3 separate regions of the Homo sapiens genome follow, and regions 1 and 2 are each linked to region 3. Evidence: promoter capture Hi-C in human tissues and cell types (Jung and others, 2019). All regions are on one chromosome and are shown on one strand. Each heading gives the region's core, a stretch centred on a gene start or on the middle of the fragment in contact. The rest is flanking DNA. Distances are from core to core; before and after follow the strand shown. Region 1 has its middle 7.2 kb from the start of PRRC1. Region 2 has its middle 25 kb from the start of PRRC1. Region 3 holds the start of C5orf63 (chromosome 5 open reading frame 63).

Region 1 (3,686 bases), core at 348-2,847, 440 kb after region 3:
TATGAGTAAGAGTTCAATTTTATCAAATGTTTTTAACTGTATCTACTGGTATTATCAGATTCCTTTTCTTTTTAAATTTGGTAAATCATCAATAAATTTTTCTGACGTAGGACCACTCTTCTATTCCTGGGAGGAAAACAACATTACTTAGTCACAATGTATATCATCAATCATCATCATCACTATCACCCAATTCAATTTTCTAACATTTCACCTAGAATTTTTTTTCTTTTTTCTTTTTTTTTTTTTTTTTTTTTTTTTGTTTGCAGGGCTAACTCCGAGGCAGTGTGCCCAGAGTTAGCCTTTTCATCTATGTTGATAAGGGAGAATGTCTTATTTTCTTTTGTCTAGTTAGGAAGCTAACCATAATGAATGCTCACTACAGAAATCATTTAACTATCCCTCACTCATCAGGGGAGGAAATTAAAGCTCAGAGAAGGTAACCCTCAGACAAGAGTTGCTTTCTTAATTAGTGGCAGAAGCTGTGCTAGATTCCTAATCTAGTGTATTTTCCACCTAACCCTGCTGACCTGCTTAGAAGCAGTTAGTTCTATGAGATAGGAAGCAGAAGGACACCAAATGGCTGTTCCCATGCAGCTGGTTTGATTGGGGAGTTACATAAATTGGACTCATTCACCTCACAGGCTCTCTTGTCAAAATTTCACTTCTAAGCATTAAAGAAATGCTGAATTGACAAAAGAAAAAGCACATGGCCCTGAGCTTTAAATATTGCTTGAAAATGAAGGTGCTTGTAGGAACAATTGTGTTATGTTTCCTTTTCTAAACTATCATAAAAATTAAAAGGGAAAAGTGGAATGTTCTGTGAATTAAAAGTCTTGAGAAACACTACTACAGATATAAATATTTAGGAGGTATCATGCACTGAGAGCTATTGCTTGAAGTTATGCAAACTTTTAACTTTGTAAAAACACAAAATTCTAGAAAACAATTAGAATACTCTGCAATATGTTATTGCATATTAACAGGGATTCCTTGGCCAGAGAACTAATTTTAGTGGCATGGTTTCTTATTCAAAGGAAAATTTCAAATTTTTCAAAAGAAACATTTGTTCTGTCTCCTACAAGAATATTTTTAGTGAACTCATATTTGGAGGAGAAAAAAGATGATTATGAGGACGTTTTGCTATGTGTGTGCTGCACATGAATCTTAATAGAAAATTCAACTAAATTCAAAACATGTTCGTAGTACTCACTCACGTAAAAATTTGAATGTAGTGGTATTCTAAACCCAAAGTTACTACCATCAAGGAGCTCATAAATGAATAGAGAATATAAGCATGTACAGCCAACAATACTACAATGTAAAAAGATTTTATGGTAGAAGAAAACTTTGAGCAAGTCCTTGAAAAGTGAAGAATACCTATTAGTAGAAGGTGGAAAGGGAAAAACATGCTCAGGTAAAGGGATTGATAGGGGCAAAGGTGCATGGCTTCAGGCTTCGGTAGGGCAGATTCTTGCAGTGGGTGCCTGGGAAATATGGAGCAGGATGTAGGAAAAGGAGAAGAGTCTAGAAAGCAAGAGTAAATTGAGTTTTTAAGATTTTACCATATGAGAAAGAAGGAGTGATAGACGTTTTCATAAATATGTATTTGAGAAAAATAATTGAGTTTGCTCTTCTTTTTTCTTTTTCTTTCTTTTTTTACAATTTAAGATTACTGTATTTCCTTGTAAGAGGAATGTTTCAATAAATTTTACAGGTGTCAATCAACCCTTGTTCAAATTGGTCACATATCAAATCTAGCATCATGGGTGTTTTATTTATTTGCAAGTGAATTTTAACTATCATAACAAATGCCAATATACTACGCAAAACATCCACAGGAACTTTTTTCATCTTTTTTTGAATTGTACACAAACATTTCCTACATAATCCAACATACAACAGAGAAATGGTACATCTTTTTCTTTCAATTTGCATACAATGGAAAAACAAGTATATATGTATTTTATAAAGTTTAATAAGACATTAGAGCAAGTTGACAGTTTATAGGTGAGAAATTATCTAATAAAAATAATCAGTTTTTTTCAGCATCAGTCACTTCCATAACCAAGTGTTATTCTGATTAATAAAACTTGCTGCCAATCAGAATTCTGGTATATACTCATACCATTACTCAATTTGTAGTACTGCTCCCCACTTTAGTTCTTCACAACCACTAACATATAAAATTGTTGAAAAGCAGGGGCAAGCATTTGCAAAAACAAACAAAAAATGCCCAGCTTTTTATAAGCATGAATATGTATGTTGGAATTTCTTCCCAGAAATAGGCTTTCAAACCATCAAGAAATCACCAGAACTAAGTTTGCCGAGTTATTTTGCCTATGTCCAAGAAGAGATGCACTTACATATCCAACAGAGGAGCTGAAAATCAAACTTAGTGTTTAGTTTGGGGGTGGAGAAATTCAGCCACCATTTTAAAATGACTGTCTTAAAAAAAATGACCACAAAAAATAGGTTCACTAAATTTATTTTAAAAATCATAAAATGTTTCTTTAAAAAGAGCATTATATTCTGCACACTGCTCTGAACAGATGCCAGGGACATATGGACTATTGTTACTTTTCCTCCCTGTCCCACCCCCCAAATGTTACAGTGACCACAAAGCAAGGTGTTCGCAATAATTACATGGGGGGAATTTTTTTTAAACCATCAACAATAACAAAAAATAAAATCCACTCACTCTGCTGCTGTTTCAAAATTTCAATGTTAGTTTTTGCACGCCCTTCCCCCACAACCCTATTTGTAAGGAACTAAAACATTACATCTGGTGAACAGCAAAGATTTCACTACACTTCAAATGCAGAACACCTACAAAGCAGAGGAATGTTGGCTTTTTAAACAGAAGCAAATAAAAAAAAAAGATGCAGGACTCCTCCAGTTCTTCACTAGTCTTAGAAAAACTTTCCAGAATACTGCTACACATTGTTCTGCAGCAAATATTGTGCATTCTGTATCTGGTCCTGTGTTCCTGTAATGATAGTGATCTGATCTTCGGATCCTTCTAAAGGCTCATCAATTTTGATTGAAGCTCCCAACTCATGACCGATTTGTTTAATCCGCTGACCACCTTTGCCAATAATAGATCCAGTCAAATCTTTGGGAATAGTTACTTGTGCAGTAGTAATAGGTCCACCAAGATCACCATATGAGCCACCAATCCCTGCATAGGAATAATCATATCCGGAGCCACCCTGTGGTTCATAAGCCATCTGCCATTCCGATGGGCTCCATGTATCTATTGCAGAGTTCCAAGTTTCATCAGGACTGAAACCAACCATGCCATCGTAACAGTCTCCAGGTCTCCCTCTTCTGTCATAGGCCATTAGGTCTTCCCCTCTAGGTGGTGGTGGTGGAGGAAGAGGAAGATTCCGAGCTCTGCTACCACCCCGGCCACCTCGTCCAGTAAGAGGAGGAGGTGGTCCTCGATGAGGGTTCATATCTCTTCTAGATGGAGGCATGGGACGCCCACTCCAACCAGGAGGCATTCTGTCAAAACCACCTCTTCCCCACATTGGAAATCCCACTGGGCATCCAGGGCGGTCATCAAACATCATTGTAAAACCACCATAATCATAGGTTTCATTGTAAAAACTGGGATCATAAGGCTGTGCAGGTCCTTTGATGGGAGACTCAGATATAAGATCAAGGATGATCTTTATGCACTC
Region 2 (4,139 bases), core at 999-3,498, 420 kb after region 3:
ATTGAAAGGGAAATATAAATACATATGTTAGGGGAAAAAATTGCCTGTATAGAGTAAGGATTTAACCTTTGCTAAATGCCAGGAGGCAGAGGTTGCACTGAGCTGAGATAGTGCCACTGCACTCCAGACAGAGCAAGACTCCATCTAAAAAAAACAAAAAAAAACACATACTTAAAGCATAATGGTGCAGAAAAATAGAAACTTCAAAGATGGAAAAGCAAACACTAACCAAAAGAAGATGGTTGTTATTACATTAATTTCAAACAAAATAGACTGTAAGGCAAAAGATTTATTAGGGACAACCAAATTCCAACATGTGGCTAAATAAACAATTTACCCGTAAGCCATAATTCTGAACCCATGTGAACAAGATAGCTTCAAACTATGTAAAGAAAATTTGAAGAATTTCGAGAAAAAGTAGAAAATGTCAAACATTGGGAAAAGTATACACATTTAAAAAATCGAATTAACCATCTTGGGCTAATGTGTGTGTGTGTGTGTGTGTGTGTGTGTGTGTGTACATAGCATAGATATAGGAATAGATATGGATAAGAATGTGGCTATATTTGTTTGTATCCTTATACATGGTATATTGAACTATCAAGCTTGTTGCAAAGTGCAAGGAGAAACTAACTAATCTTTCAACTTCTAAAGACTTTGCTCCTGAATGAAATATTGACAAGTTTTATAGCTCTTCTAATCATTTTCATGTGATAAAATACAGCATAGTCAAATATAAACCCTACATTCTCATCCAATTTTAGATGATTCTCCTTCCCCAGCTCAGCTCACATGGGTTCAAAAACTTACAACGAGAAAGCAGGACGTGGTTGGCTTCTTTCCTCTTTCTTCGTACACCCCCTTCTCACTTGCTGGATGTGCTTTTGGTCAATGGGAAGAGAAGGAAGGATATAAAAGGGGCATTAAGGAGAAAACAATTTTTCAAGGCTCACAGGGTCACAATCTGGTATGAAGCTTTGCTTTGTATTCCACACGCAGTGCTCTTTCTTTTAAAGGCAGTTTTGTAAAAAACTGTGAAAGATCCCGCAGTATTGCTCATGCATACAGCTTACAAACCCTAAGCTTAGCTACTAGATTCTAGCAGCTCACCCTACTGTTGTGGCTACCTATTCTTCTAAGTAATACTTTTAGGTAGTATGTCCCTCCCAAGTAGCCATAAAATCTTGAGAGAAATGTACATTCACTTTTGCCCTAACAGACTATGAAAGTGCAGTCCATTTCTAAGCAGATCACTTTGGCTCTAACTTTTAGAATATATTTACTCATGAACCCCATACCAATTACTGTGTCCTCAAATTCTAGGGAGCATCTGTCTTGCTCTTTGATTGTTTCTGTCAATATATGTCCCTGGCTGGGATTAAAATGAGAGTAGCATTAGCGCCACATCTAGATGGAGACGAGAAACATCATGATTCTCCAATTTTCTCTTTAAAGAAATACTGTACTTCTTTTCTTCATCTTTATCATCCCATAACCAATTCTCTAGCCTGGTTTCATACAGCATTTGAAGCGAAGGATGATTTAAGTTTTGTAAACCCAGTCTCACATTATCTTAGAATGCCCAGCAAACATGCACATTGAGAAGCTGAGACTTTAGCTGAAACATCAAGATAACAAAAAAGTCACAGCTAAAATCTTCTCTTTCTCTTACACATGCGCACACACACACACACACACACCTACCTGCACCCAAAATTTGAGCCTTAAAAAAAAACCAAACATAATGTAGACCCATTCTTGTATCTCAATGTAACAAAATTAGAAATCAAAAAATAAAGATAAAATCCTCATACAATTGGAAAGTTTAAAACACAGTTTTAAATAAGTCATAAATCAAAGAAGATAATGGAAATTAAAAAATAATTAGAACAGAATTACCAAAAAATCCCTGTGGATCAAAATTTGTATACCTAAAATTTAATTTAAACTAAAATATAATTACATGGGGAAAATTGCCTATATAGAGTAAGGATTTAACCTTTACTAAATGCCAGTAAGATGTTGCTTATAGATTTTGTTGTATTAGATCATGTATATTCTTTGTGTCTTTTTAGAAAGCAATTCATTCCTTTTAAAAAATTTTAATTTATGAGAATCTCTAAAGTAATTTCTTATTCTTCACATGGTTATAATGAAAACGGACTGTTCTCTAAATACTGCGATACTTCAATGACATGTTTATATTATTTAAGTAATTCGTTAAAAGCAATTTATTCTCTTTTTATTCTCAGGTAGACACATTAGGGTAAATCTCCTGCATTTCAATTGATCTTTAAAAAAAATGAGGAAAATTCAGGGCCTTAAGAATAAAGTGCTAGCAATGACAATCAAGTGCTGAAAGCAGAGAAAGAAAAATATATGTATATATATATTATTTTAAAAGCTTTGAGCTCCCTCTAATGGCCTTTGGTAAAATTCCCAGAAGCAATAAGACAACTTTACTTAAGTAATAAATCTCCAATAAAGATGTTTTAAGAACATCTTCAAAATGTTCAGATTGCTGTTTTACTTTAAGTAGAGCATTCATTGTGGGGAAAAACTGAGCATATCCAAATGTTGCTGTGGGAATGTCCTTTCCTGTCTACCTGTTATCCTGTTACTGATGAGAGACACATTTTCTCTCCCCCTAGTGGATGTTTACAAAAATGACACAAAGATATTACCAAACTAAGAGATTAAATTATTGCAATCAGAGAATTTAGATAGCACTAGCTGAGGCTCTTGACATGATTCAGCCTAACCTGTCATTTTGTGCTAGAGGAAATACAACAAATTTATGACTGTGTCATGGTCCAGGGGCACAGGCTCACTAAAATACTGAAGCAAATTTTAGGACTATGAACAATTTCCTTCACTCTACGCCTTACTTCTCCTTAATAGGGTTCCTGTACAACAACAGGAATTACAGTGGAAAGAACTGCAAACCTCAGGAATGATTTAAGAAGTGTCCAGGGAAATCCAAAGACAACAGAGGAGACGAAAACAGGGACACCAGAGGAAACTTTAGCCTCTGACAGAGCTACTGCAAAGAGGAAACACAGTCGAACTCCCAGTCATATAAAACCTCACACTAAAGACATAAAACCTCACACTAAAGACATAAAACTAAAGACATAAAACCTCACACTAAAGACATAAAATATATAAACCATAAAACCTCACACTAAGGACATGTTTATCTGTTTTTTTTACCCAGTACTTCATATTTAGCTTTCATCAAAAAATTACAAGGCATGAAAAAAGGTGAAAACCACAGTGTGAAGAGACAGAGCAGGCCTCACAACTAGACTCATATATGGCAGAAATTTTAGAATTATCAGACTTGGAATCTGAAAGAATTCTGAGTGATATGCTAAGGGTTCTAATGGAAAAAGTGGACAACATGCAACTACTGATGGGTAGTGTAAATACAAATATGAAAACTCTACGAAAGACTCAAAAGTAAATGCTATTATACAAATTAAAAATCCTGCAATAGAAGGGAGGAATGCCTTCGATTACTTATCAGTAGACTGGACATGGCTGAGAAAAGAATCAGTGAAATTAAAAATATATCAGCACTAACCTGCACATTGTGCACATGTACCTTAAAACTTAAAGTATAATAATAATAAAATAAAAAAATAAAAAATAAAAATATATCAGTAAAAACATCTCAAACTGAAAAGCAAAGAGAAAAAAGAATGAATAAAAACAGAATAGTATACCCCAAAATTGTGGGACAATTGCCAAAGGTATAAATACATATAATGGGAATACCAGAAGGAGAAGAAAGAGAAAGAAACAGAAGCAACATTTGAAGCAATAATGACAGAGAATTTTCTCCAAATTAATGAGACACCAGATCACAGATTCAGGAAGCTCAGAGAACACAAAGCAGGATAAATATCCCCCCAAAATCTATACATAGGCAAATCACATTTAAACCACAGAAAAGCAAAGACAAAAATAATGGCTTAAAAGAAACCAGAGGGGAAAAGAAACCCACCTTACTTATAGAGGAGCAAAGATGATAATTACATCAGGCTTTTATGTAGAAACCATGTAGGGCCCAGCATGGTGGCTCACATCTGTAATCCCAGCATTTTGGGAGGCTGAGGTGGGAGGATCACTTGAGT
Region 3 (3,690 bases), core at 433-2,932:
GCCAGCTAGAGTATATACAAGTTATGAAATAAAAAAACTTTAATAATAAAAAATAACCTATTTTAAAGGGATTTCTCATAGTGCCTCTGAGTACTTTAGAGCCAGGCATCTGGAACAAAATAGAAACACAGTCCAATCAACTCCCAAGTTGGAAAAATCCTCATTTCTATTACTTACCTGCCAACAGTCCATCTAAATAAAACCACACAGCCACATATTCCTCTGATGAAGGAGACAAAAAAATATTGATCCTTCCTTGGCATGTGGCTACTGCTGCCAGAGCAGGAGGGAAGAAAGACAATCTGAGGATCCTGCCTGTTTAAAGCACCAGCCCCACCAATCTTAATTTTCACAACAGGGTCTTTCTGGTTCCAGGCAATTCCTCAGCAGAGCAGGACGCAGGTTATTGGGCTACGATATTTCACACAGAACCATGATTAGTTCTGCTTTGCCCCAGTATTATCATAATTATCCAATATTTCCAGGGTGTATCTTTTTTCCCCGTGTTTTAAATCTTTCTAATTACCTATAATGCACCCCAATGTATACAGCTCCAAATATTGGTAGAGAGCTTCACATGCATTTTTATAAGCTAGTCCTCAGAATATGACCAAATGAGAAGACTGCGACCTCTAATAGACACCTCAACTTGTTCAGCATTGTGCACCAAGGCATAGCTCTAGTGGCTGCTTAAACAAGACAATGTATACTAATTCTGGGAAATGCGCTAGAAAGTATTGGGATATAACAGATCTTAGACACCATCTCTGTCCTTGAGGAATTGAGAATCTTGGGGTCAAGCTAAGGCCATACTATGGATTTTTTTTTTAAGGGCACTAAAATATAAAGTACCACATATACACTATTTATTAATAAACAAGAATAAAGATCACCCAAGCAAAACATTCCCTGTGAAAGACAGCCTTAGAAACAGTCACAAGCCTAACTCACAATGACATTTTAGTGGGGACTTTTCTACCCTTGGACTTATTAAAAAACTGTATGAGCTGCTATTTGTCAGAAGTGAATATCTGTTGAGAATGTACAGTTTCTGATTTATTCTCTCATTGTTCAGTACCCAGAGGGCTGCTTTTGCCCAATAAGGCTGAGAGGAGATCCAGACAGCTCATCCAGAGAGCCCCGGCACTCACAATGTTCCCTGCTGCACCTTTCAACCTTTTCACCCCAATTAAAGGTCAACATGGCTGCTCAAAAATATTTATTTAAAAAGGCAGTCAGCTCAGCGGGCTCCCAAGTGTGATTACACTACCACTTCATAGAATTCAATTAAACCCGGGACGGGGCATCGGCGAATCACTGGAGGAGTATGAAGTTGAGATGTTTTCTGCTTTCTCGAGATGTTTTCTGCTTTCTCTTAAAAAAAAAAAAAGCTTCCTTTTCCCGCCCGTCATTTATTTACTTCCCAGAGCGCTATCACAGACACACACACACGCGTTTATAATCTCCCCCAAGTAGTTCATGGATTTATGGCTCCCGGTTTAATTAAATTCCGTATAACGACTATCCAAATGGGCAGCACGCGGCACAGCGAACCCCCGCCAGCCTGCGCGTCAGCTCAGAGGCGGAGACCCGCGAGCGCTCACCCTCGGCGCGGGACTAAGGGAACCCACCTGAGCCTCACGCCGCCAACGCCTCTGCTTCCGCCCTGCGCCGGGCACTTCCGCCCGCACCCACCAGGCGCCGGCCCCAGGCCCCGCACTTCCGCCCCACGCCGGCAGCACTGCCGCTGGGCGTTCTATCTCAGGTGGTGTCCCGTCTACGCTCTCAAGGGTGGCCGCGCCTGAACCTTTACTCGTGAAGAGTGACACACAAACCAAGGCCAAACTAAAAAACAAAATACGGAAAAGTGACCCCGCATGTTTGGGAACCATTTAATAAGAGGCCTCAGGTGCGGGAGCCAACTTTTTGAGGCTGCGGAGTCCGAGCCATTTTAACCGCTCTGCATGCATCCATTCTTTCGTTAATTTAATATTTACTGCCTCCTCCACTAGGTCTTGGCTGAACTAGGTTATGGGGAATGCGATGAGCAAAACTGGCAGCCGTACCCTCCCGCAAACTGAAAATCGTGTGAGAAAGCAGATATTAGGAAATTATCCCTTATTAAATAGGCCATGGGTTTATTCAGCTAAGTGCTTTGCAGGGAAGGAATATGAGAAAAGACCTGAGTGGGATCTCGTTGAAGAGGTAGCTTTGGGGCTGGGATCTGAAGGGCGTGGGTTGGGGACAGAGCTCTGCAGGCTGGGGGAAGGGTCTGGTGGAGGATGTGCAGTATGGGTTGTATGCGGAAGACTGACGAGTATGGCTGAGACTTAGAGGGAATGGGGAAGAGAGGTGGAAACAGGCTAGAGAGGGTAAGCGAGAGTCTGGCCATGCAGGGCCTTTCAGGTTTGTGCTAAGGGTAGCCGGGGGGCATTTCTGTTTTATGTGGGAAGGGGATTGAACTGATTGCTTTTCCCTTCTGAAAGGACCCCTTAGCTTTGGGAAGTAGATGGGAAGGGTTTAGGATAGGCAAGAGTAGAACAAGCAGGGAGGTGAGGAAGCTACTGAGCATTCCAGGTTCTAGGTGTGGTGGCTTGAATGGTGGTACAGTAAATAATGAGAAAATGATGGATAATAATTATAGTAATACTCAAAGCTAACATTTATTGATTGCTCACCAAAAGCTTTATACTCATTAGTCTGTTTAATCCTGAGAACAATGCAATTAAGTATTACTAGTACCATTTTACAGATGAAGTAATGGAGGTTTAATAACTTGCTCAAGTTCTCACAGTTACAAAACGGTAGATTTGGAATTCCATCTCATGCTGTCTGACGCCTTAAGCTTACCACTATAAATTCAATGTGTACTCAGTGGTTTTAAAAAAGATACAAAGCAAACCAAGGTCAGGAATGAATTCTTTAAACAAACCACACTGATTATGTGATGTCGCTAGAGGCCACATTAAGATAGTAGAATTTACAAGTTCTTTGTCACTTCAGCATTTTCTGATAGGCTAAAGAGGGAATTTTGTGACTGTCAACAGACTACCTATAGTTATTTTTGAGTTGATGCACTCTGATAAGACTTAGTTTTTCTGGAAAAAAAAAAGTCAATTGATAAAGCACAGTCCACCTAACAGTTGCTGATAGGATACCTTTAAAGAAGGAATCTGGGATCTAGTTATAAACACCTTGGTGGGGCATGAGTATCTTAGATATTGTGGAGTGACAGAAAAGCTTACTAGAAATGTAACTCCAGATCAGCTTCCAAATCTTATTTATTGTTGGAAAACAAAGGTTTATAAAATCACTTGGACTTATGAAACCTGATTTCACCCACTGAAGGAAAAGAATGGATTCAACCAAGGCCAACAATGAAGGCTTTTAGCACTGGTTATGAGTAAATTTCTCTAAGGAGCCAAAAGTTCATAAATTTTCAGAATTTGAGTTTAATCAGTAAGAATTTCTTGGGTTTGTAAGTGATAGCGGAAGACCTGGAGCCTCCACATTATTGTTTTGGTTAGAGGGAGTCCTGTCGAATGTCTAGGAATCCCTGAGAACTCACTATGGTTGATACCCTCTTTGGGAGTGCCTGGCTGACTGCCATGAGCTCAGAGGACCAGTTTAGCCTCTAGGTCCAGGGCCTACAGTGCTGGGGAAGGGAGCTCTGCTTGGGAAAATATCTGG

The links. Contacts are between HindIII fragments. The study calls those that stand out against the background at their distance.
Region 1: a fragment that was not itself captured here is called in contact with the fragment with the promoter of C5orf63 in region 3 in 1 of the 25 tissues and cell types used here (mesenchymal stem cells).
Region 2: a contact is called between a fragment that was not itself captured here and the fragment with the promoter of C5orf63 in region 3, in 1 of the 25 tissues and cell types used here (H1 embryonic stem cells).

The regions. Positions count from the first base shown.
Region 1 is chr5:127,508,547-127,512,232 of GRCh38, forward strand. It overlaps the pseudogene HNRNPKP1. Among named protein-coding and RNA genes, the nearest start is that of PRRC1, 7.2 kb to the right of the region's middle. The HindIII fragment of the contact is 6,089 bases long and covers 1-3,686 here.
Region 2 is chr5:127,490,507-127,494,645 of GRCh38, forward strand. No RefSeq gene overlaps it. Among named protein-coding and RNA genes, the nearest start is that of PRRC1, 25 kb to the right of the region's middle. The HindIII fragment of the contact is 4,370 bases long and covers 64-4,139 here.
Region 3 is chr5:127,071,820-127,075,509 of GRCh38, forward strand. It overlaps C5orf63 (chromosome 5 open reading frame 63), which reads right to left and starts at 1,683. Exons shown (of 5, transcript NM_001164478.2): 1 at 1,632-1,683. RefSeq lists a silencer at 1,540-1,759. The HindIII fragment of the contact is 2,852 bases long and covers 191-3,042 here.